Linked DNA regions of Homo sapiens: regions 1 and 2 are each linked to region 3. The links are contacts of gene promoters, found by promoter capture Hi-C in blood cells and fetal thymus (Javierre and others, 2016). All regions are on one chromosome and are shown on one strand. Each heading gives the region's core, a stretch centred on a gene start or on the middle of the fragment in contact. The rest is flanking DNA. Distances are from core to core; before and after follow the strand shown. Region 1 has its middle 6.8 kb from the start of CLDN10-AS1. Region 2 overlaps DNAJC3 (DnaJ heat shock protein family (Hsp40) member C3). Region 3 holds the start of DZIP1 (DAZ interacting zinc finger protein 1).

Evidence for each region. Contacts are between HindIII fragments. The CHiCAGO score rates a contact against its expected background, and 5 or more counts as called.
Region 1: a fragment that was not itself captured here is called in contact with the fragment with the promoter of DZIP1 in region 3 in 3 of 17 cell types (monocytes, M0 macrophages and M1 macrophages); the score reaches 6.3 in monocytes.
Region 2: a contact is called between a fragment that was not itself captured here and the fragment with the promoter of DZIP1 in region 3, in 1 of 17 cell types (neutrophils). The highest score is 6.7, in neutrophils.

What each region holds. Positions count from the first base shown.
Region 1 is chr13:95,539,192-95,542,257 of GRCh38, forward strand. It overlaps a transcript of CLDN10 not described here. Among named protein-coding and RNA genes, the nearest start is that of CLDN10-AS1, 6.8 kb to the left of the region's middle. The HindIII fragment of the contact is 430 bases long and covers 1,316-1,745 here.
Region 2 is chr13:95,743,783-95,746,719 of GRCh38, forward strand. The region is part of intron 4 of DNAJC3 (DnaJ heat shock protein family (Hsp40) member C3); the gene reads left to right. Among named protein-coding and RNA genes, the nearest start is that of DNAJC3, 68 kb to the left of the region's middle. The HindIII fragment of the contact is 1,147 bases long and covers 729-1,875 here.
Region 3 is chr13:95,643,456-95,646,311 of GRCh38, forward strand. DZIP1 (DAZ interacting zinc finger protein 1) reads right to left here and starts at 1,251. Exons shown (of 23, transcript NM_198968.4): 1 at 922-1,251; 2 at 146-243. RefSeq lists silencers at 864-973, 1,034-1,123, 1,214-1,323 and an enhancer at 1,414-1,463. The HindIII fragment of the contact is 11,159 bases long and covers 1-2,856 here.

The DNA.
Region 1 (3,066 bases), core at 281-2,780, 100 kb before region 3:
TTTCTAAAACATTTTATTGCTCTCCAAGAATAGAAACCAGATCAAATGTTTGAGGATAGCAATGTAAAAGTAGAGGGTACAAAGGAACCAAAGTCACTGGACTCTTAAAACAACACAGAAGAAAAAGTGAGGATGCTGGCATTACAATTGGATTGTGAATCTGTTTTCACCTTCAGTATTTATATTGAGACATGTGGGAATACAGTATTGTTTCAATATGCCTTCTCTCAAATGATCATTTTTTAGTTGGTACATGACTAAGAGGTTTGCTATATTCATTGGAGTAACATTCACGTTCTGAATTAATTTGCTTAGAAGATGAATCTGACTTTATAATAAAAATTTTAAAGGAGTCAATTAGAAAAGAGCAGCTGGAAGAAAGTTGTTGCATTATTTAAGGGCTTGAATAATATACAAAGGTAAGTTAGTAATAAAAAGTTAATTACAAGATGGCTTTATTTCTTATTGAAACTGTATTTTCTACCTTTCCAGAATATTGTCCTGAGAACACTTACATATTCCTTTTTTTTAGAAAAACTGTGGAATGAAGAAGGCACTCATTATTTTCAGCTCCCATAGTTATAATTCTGTTTCTATAGAAATTTGCAACATCCCATAGAGTACAGTATTTTATTCAGCTTTCAAAAGATAATCTTGACCCTTTAACACATGTTTACTTTTGGCTGGGCAAGGTGGCTCACGCCTGTAATATCAGCACTTTGGGAGGTCGAGGTGGGCAGATCACCTAAAGTCAGGAGTTCAAGACCAGCCTGGGCAACATGGTGAAGCCCCTTCTCTGCCAAAAATATAAAAATTAGCCTGACGTGGCCAGGCGCGGTGGCTCACGCCTGTAATTCCAGCACTTTGGGAGGCCGAGGTGGGTGGATCACCTGAGGTCAGGAGTTCAAGACCAGCCTGGCCAATATGATGAAATCCCGTCTCTACTAAAAATACAAAAATTAGCCGGGCATGGTGGTGCATGCCTGTAGTCCCAGCTACTTGGGAGGCTGAGGCAGAAGAATCGCTTGGACCCGGGAGATGGAGGTTACAGTGAGCTAAGATCACGCCACTGCACTCCAGCCTGGGCAACAGAGGGAGACTCTGTCTCAAAAATAAATAAATAAATAAATAAATAAATAAATAAATAAATATTAGCCTGGCATGGTGGCATGCGCCTGTAATCTCAGCTGCTTGGTGGGGGCTGAGGCAAGAGAATCGCTTGAGCCTGGGAGGTGGAGGTTGCAGTGAGCCAAGATAGCACCACTGCACACCAGCCTGGGCAGCAGAGCAGAGACAGACTCTGTCTCAAAAAAAAAGCTTACTTTTAAGAACTGCTTACATTAATTACAAAAGACCACTTTTTAGTTGTTAATATGCATTAGGTAACAAATACTTGGCATATATGCATTCTTTGAAAATATCAGACAAATAACTAAACAAAATTGCATGCTAGTTAGTGGCTCGGACTGGGAAATGAGAAGTGATGTTAATTCTTAACGTTGGCTACTTTTGTCACCTGTAAAATATGATCAAGCCTGTTAGTCTAACTTAATAGCTTGAGTAATTGATATAGGGAGTGAAGTTTTTTTGGGGGTTGGGGAGAGACATTGCTTTTTTCCACTGACACTGACGATACCAGTTTACTACTATGTGACACTTTTTGCTTGAACTAGAAGAGATAAGTAGTATTTTTCAAGTTTTGAGGTTTGGGTGTTCTGCTCTTGTGGACGTGTCATGTTTAATAAAGCTTGTTCACAACTACTGGCTTAGGAAGTGGCTTGCAGTTGACAAGTATGTGACTTGGAACACTGGGTGGAATGGCCACGTGGCCCAGTGGCCCAGGGCCCACACTGAGAATGCAGCAGCTGTGCATGCTAAATCTGGCTCTGTCATTAACCTGCCGAGGGACCTTCTACAAATGCTTAATTCCAACCATGAAAGCAAACATAGGCACCGATGCTTGAGAATAGTTGTAAAGGAAATCAGGCCTTGTGCAGAAAATAAACGGAACTCGTCTGCCTTTCCTTTCTAACACTTGTTGGAGGCAGGGAGGAATTCAGAATGACCAGGCTGCAAGTTACTGTTCTTTGCTTCTAATTAAGAGGCAACTATACGCAAGTGAGCATAATTAGGAGAAACTGGGGCAGCTGGGGCAAGTATGGGCAAAACTTAAGCCAACTTTGAAAACTAAAGGGCAAATCTCTGGAGTAGTGAGAAAGAGATTTCTCCCTGGTTCCCTCTCTTGCTAGCTGCATATGTGTACAATGACCCCATCACACTCTGCGTCTGAGCCTCCCTCTCTTTCTAGTTTTTTTCTGTTTCCCCTGTTCCTTCTTGTTTTTCCTTTGTTTGCACTGTCTGAAGGGGAGGAGGAGACAATATTCTCCCATTGCATTTTTTATTACTTCCTCTATCACTAGATCTAGGCAGAGCTTTTGAGACTTGTTTTGACACACTCACTTTTTTTCCACACTCACTTTTTAGACGGGAAAAATGGGCCCAATCAAATGTAAATGAACAGCAAGGTAGTGACAGCTAGAATAGATGGCAGGTCATTTAAATGCCAGTCCAGTGCTATTTCCATACATTGCACCCAAGTTTAATGATTAAGAACAAACAATAACACTCCCAAGGCTGAACTGACCTTATATTTTTCATATGTAAAAATGTATTCTATGTTTGTTACCTCACAACTATGTTAGTCCATTCTCACATAGCTATAAATATCTGAGACTGGGTAATTTATAAAGAGAAAAGGTTTAATTGCTAGGTTTTGCAGGCTGTACAGGAACATGATGCTGGCATCTACTTGGCTTCTGGGGAGGCCTCAGGAAACTCACAATCATTGCGGAAGATGAAGTGGAAGCTTGCATGTCACATGGTCACATGGCCAGAGCAAGAGCAAGAGAGCGAGGTGGGAAGTGCTACACATTTTTAAATGACCAGATCTCACGAGAACTCATTCACTATCACGGGAACAGCCCCAAGGGGATGGTGCTGAACCATTCGTGAGAAATCTACCCCCATGATCCAGTCACCTCCCATCAGGCCCCACCTCCAATACCG
Region 2 (2,937 bases), core at 52-2,551, 100 kb after region 3:
TCCTGACCTCAAATGATCCACCCACCTTGGCCTCCCAAAGTGCTGGGATTATGGGCCTGAACCACCACGCCCGGCTGCCTCCTGCTTATTTAATAGTAGTTATCCTTAATATTGGGTAAAGTGATTCTTCTTTTGTTCTTTGTCAAAATTGTTTTAGATATTTTAAGGTTGGTGTCTTTCCATATACATTTTAGAATAAACTTGTCTGTGTTTATAAAAAGTCTTGAGATATTTGGTTAGGAGTCGTAATAAACTTACAGATTAATTTGGGGAGAATTGACACCTTTATTATGTTGAGTCCAGTGCATGAACATAGTAGGGATGTCTCCATTTGTTGAGGTCTCCTTCAGTATTTTTCATCAGCAATTTTTAATTTAATATACAGATACTGTATGTGTTTTTTACATTTTTTTAAAAAGTGTATACCTAAGTATTTTATATTTTTACTGTGATTGTAAATGGTATGTTTTAAATTCCAACTTTTGCATGGGATAATATTTTTGTGATTATTTCATAGGAAAGTACTCACCTTGTACTTAATTCTATGAGAGAAATCTTAGTGGGCATTCAGATGGGAGACCAAGTTAAATTTCAAAACTACAAGTCATTTTTAAAAGTTATATTAAAACAATTTTGTATGCATGTAAGAATAATTATAATTAGATTGGATTTGGTTTAGAGAAAAATACAAGCACAGGATTCATATATTTCAGAATCATTTTATGTTAAGCTTTGTTTGAAGTAAATTTAGGGTACCTGGAATAGTTTGTCCAAACTCATTGTAGGACTTAAAATTCAGATTAACAATTGGCAAATTCATATGTATGTACTTTGATCAATATGTATAGTCCTGCTCAAGGACGGTAGAGAGGGAGACACAGGGTCATGGAATTGGAATGCTGAGAAAAATTTATTTAACATATTAAAAAATTGATTAAATTTTAAGCATTCGGAACCTTGATTCCACAGGACAGAAGATAAAAGAATATTATCAGGCAGGTAACACAAGAAATACAAATTCAAAATCAGTGCATACAGTGCGCAGTCTTCCAAATGAAGAGATGAATGTTAAAACTATTCAGAGACCACTGGTCATTAAGTTGAGCAAAAATCAAGACGTATTTTACAGCGTAATATTGATAGGTCTTAAAGGAAATGTTTTCAGTCATATAATATGTTGACACTGCAAACATAAGCAGAGCTTTTGCGGTACAGTCTGGCATTAAGTATTACGAGAGAAAAACATTTTGCCCAGAGACACTTACTGGGGCTCTATTTGCTCTGGAAACTATTAGAGAATGTTGTATCTATATAATAGAATAATATTCATTAATAAGAATTATTTAAGGTTTGGTTTATAAACTTGGGCATACATAATAATGTCAATTAAATGGCAATATAAAAATTGTAAATGTTGATAACTACATAAAATTTTTATGTCTGTTAAATTAATATGATATGAATGACAATTATTTGAAGTTTCTAGCTCTTTTCCCTTGTGAGAGTTGTCAGAATCAAAATGAAGTCACTTGTATTAAATTCTAACAAAAAATAAATAAAGCCAGGAGGTTAAGAAGGGAGCTCTCACACACGTCTATCGTAAGAACTGCTACAAAGCATCTCTGAAGGGCTCTTCTGCACATATGCCTGTAATAAGAACTTTTGCCAGCAGTCCCTGCATCTCTACATCCATGGAGCCCCATTGACATTCCCCACCTGCAGCGGCCACTGCAGCTCAAACTGCAGCTTGCTACGTGAGTCACAAGGATAGCTAGCTGGATGCATAAGAACATTTGACTGACACAGTCTCCCCTGTATCCAATGTTCTCTTTGTTTTCAAACAAATTCCTTATGCTTTTCCCTTTTGCCTTTAAAAGCTTCTCCTGGCTTCAACCTGTTTGGATATGCCTGTGGTCCCTATAGCCCTCATATGCTGGATTTGCAAATCCCCTGCACACTCCAGAATAAACTCAGTTCAATAAACTCTTTGAAGAATGCTTGTTATTTAGGTTGACACTCTTTTGTAAAGTTGTATTCAATACACTTTGAAGAAAAAAGAAAAGCTTTGGAACAAGAGGTAGGAACCTTGAGTTTTAGATTTGACTTTGTACTTCAGCCATGGTTTGTGCAGCACTCACCATGTACTGGGTGTGTTGCTGAGTGGTTTGCATGGATTATTCCACCTCTAGGGGCAGAGGACTGCTATATTCGTAGTCTCAGTTTACAGCAGAGGAAATTGAGGCTTAGAGCAGTTTAGTAACTTGCTCAAGATTACACCAGTAGTTGGCAAGTAGGTTTTAGATTCCAGGGCCTGCACTCTGAAGCACTGCGCTGTTCTGCCCTCTGTTATAATTAGTAATTGTCCATATGCATCCTTTGAAGATGACTTCTGTAGAATATGGGCACAGGTCTCAACTGTATGGACAGTTTTACAAAGTGCAGAATAGGATAGTTGCTACTATCTGCATAAATGTAAGAACATACATATTTGCTTGAATGTGGATAAAATACCCCTGGAAAGATATGCAAGAAACTGATAACACTGATTACCTTCTGGAGGAAGATTACACCATGTGACCTTATTACCTTCTCAAAAAAAGTGTAAAGTGTAGACTTTATACATTTTGTGTAAGTGGCCTTGAAAGTTCTTGCCTTCTAAGGACCTTATTTTCCTCATTGTGAAGTGTAGAAGTTGAATAGATGACATATTCCTATCTTTATTGTTGATACTATATAATGGATGATTTCTGAGTCTAGTTTGAAAAGATCAAATTTATGTTATGCCTATTTTATATTTACCAATTACAGGATTCTTATACTTTAATTTTTGAAGATTTGTGAGTATAAATGATATATAAAAGTTTGATTGTTTTATATGTTCTTGGTTAAATGAGCTTTTTGTGTAATGATCATTTACCAGGCTATAAAATGTACTAA
Region 3 (2,856 bases), core at 1-2,500:
TCCCTGCAACCAGGCATAAAAAGTGCTAAAGACATAAATAGTTTCAAAGTTTGATTCTGTCACTTACTTGCTCCCTGATCTAGAACAAATTGTCAGCTCTAAGACTTAGCTTCCTCCATCTGTTTAAGAGCATCAAGACACCGACCTGGCAGGTCTGTAGATTCTGGACTCCATCCACTGGGCTGCAGGATCAGCGGGAACAAGAGCTGTGGTCTCTCTTGCTCAAGTATACGTCCCTAGAACCTAGCAGAGGACAGGCACGGAGAAGGCGTTCAGAATTTGCTGAATGGACACGTGAATGAAGAACGATCGAATGACTTAGGCGCTTAGTTAAGGAAACATCAGCTCCTGGCCCTTTATCCCTCCTATTTTTGCTGCCTCTGGCCTGTTAGAACGATTAACCCATGATCTGGGCCAAGGGCTTCAGAGCTGAACGTGGGGGTGGCCCGCGCGCCCCCGCTGAGATCTGGGCGCAGAGGCCTGCGGGCCCGAGGTACCCATCTCCGTTGGCCGCCACACTCCATCGTGGGGCGTCGTGCCGCTGACCACCCCTTTCCCCTTGCGTGGATCTCGGTCACAAGATGGCCGGAACAGGAAAGAAGGGGGCATGCTTTCCCGTTCCCTCCCTCCCCCATCCCGGGCAGGGCCCCCAGCCTTGCGCGGCGCCTCAAGTCCCAGGCGCATGGCACCGCCGGGCAGCCGAACCAGCAGACAAAAGCCGAGAGACGCGGGTTCCAGGGGAACCTCGGCGCCCTTCCTTGGAAGGCAAACAGGCAGTGGGGGCAGCGGCGGCTACTCCAGCTGGATCTGCAGAGGCTCGGCTCGCAGCCTGGAGAGGCAGGAGGGCCGGCTTCGCGGGTATCGGGATGCCCCGTCAGCCACCTCCTGTGGGCGCCTGGCGCATCCCCGGTCTCGGCTCACCCCAGCTGCGCGCTCCTGGGCGGGTGCCGGGCGCTGCAGGCGGGCGGGGGCGACACAGGGGACCCAGACCCCAGGGTCGCTGCTGACGCGGGCCGGGCCCGCGGAGGCCGAGGAGCAGCAAAGCGGAGAGAGGCAGGCCGGCTCCTTCTTGCAGGGCGCAGGATGAAACGTGTCTGGTCTGGGCAAGTTGTGGCGAGGCGGGTCGACTGGCGCCGCTCTAGGGCCTTCCAGACTCCGGACCACGGACGACTCAGGATACCCCACCCCCCTCCCGCCCCCTCCCCTCCGCGATCTCCCTCCGGCCTCTTCCCTCGGTGTCCCGGCTCCTCTGGCAACTGGGCGGGACCGCGAGCGTCTAGACCGCAGCGCTAAAATGCGCTCAGCCAATCCGGCAGCTGGCGCAGACACGTGGTTCGGGGGCGCGCTCCGTTGCTGGCCCTGGATGCTAACCCTAGGAAGGCTTTTCAAAGAGAAACCAGATTCGCTCCTACCCGGTTGTTGGTCTGGCCCTCAGCAAGCTAATTTCCCAGAGGAGCTTCAGGTGAATTATCTTCCAAAAAGAGATGCGTTTTAATCGCAGAAGTCTGCAGATGCGAAGGACCTTGAAAAGGCTATCTAATGTGGCCCTGCATTTGAGTGACGTGGAAAACCGAGATTAGGGACTTTTCACCAAAGCCCTCTAGGATTTAAACCCACGTAGGTTTCTGCGTCTCTTTCCGTTATGCCCACTTCAGGATGAAAGGCACGGATCTTTGTTGGTAGAAAGTTAGGCACTGAATTACAGGAGATGTGGGTCCGGAGTAGTGTGCTCATTTATGTAACCTAAAATTGGAACACGTGGGACAAAAGTCAGTATTTTTAAGTAACAAGTAATCCAGAACGTATGTATATACCATCATGAGAAATGAAGGCATCTTTTGCAAAACCTAAGTGTCTAATGCAGCTATATATATATATATATATAATATATATATATATGTTTTTAAATTAGAGAGGAGTAGCTGCAGAACTTTTACTGGACCAACATGCCGTTGTAAAAGTGCCTTTCCTTGTGCTTCTCCCTGACAGAATCAACTTTGTACCATACTTTAGCACAAGGCTTCAAACATAGCAACAGCTAAATATGTATTTATGTTGAATTCCTTGCTTTAGTTTTATTTGAAGCCATAAGGCCAAGATGACCATGATGGGATTTTAAATTGGTCTAATTTTAAAATTATTTTGAAAGAAAATTCAAGATCTCTATAAAAATCCTCTAAGTACTATGGGGAAAGATTTCTAGATAGAAATTTCAGACAATAGGCCGAGCGCAGTGGCTGACGCCTGTAATCCCAGCACTTTGGGAGTCCGAGGCGGGTGTATCACGAGGTCAGGAAATCGAGACCATCATGGCTAACACGGTGAAACGCCGTCTCTATTAAAAATACAAAAAATTAGCCGGGCATGGTGGTGGGCACCTGTAGTCCCAGCTACTCGGGAGGCTGAGGCAGGAGAATGGCGTGAACCTGGGAGGCGGAGCTTGCAGTGAGCCGAGATCGCGCCACTGCACTCCAGCCTGGGCGAGAGAGCGAGGCTCCGTTTCAAAAAAAAAAAAAAGAAAAAAGAAAAGAAAAGAAAAAGAAAGAAAGAAAAAAAAAGAAAGGAATTTCAGACAATATGAGATAGATAGGACCATTGCTCTGCAAAATCCGGTTTTTGCAAACTCGGTAGCTGTCTGTGTGTGTGTGTGAGAGAGAGAGAGAGATGATTGCTTAATTAATATTATTTGTTGACATACCATTTGAGTTACATGTATTTCCCATCCCCACTGTCAGTATATTACCCTACAGGTGTAGAATTGGAATAAGAAGAATCAATTGACTTTGGCATGACTTAGCAGCCATGATGCATTCTTGATCTATGCACAAACCACTTTTACCAATTGTATAATGGTAT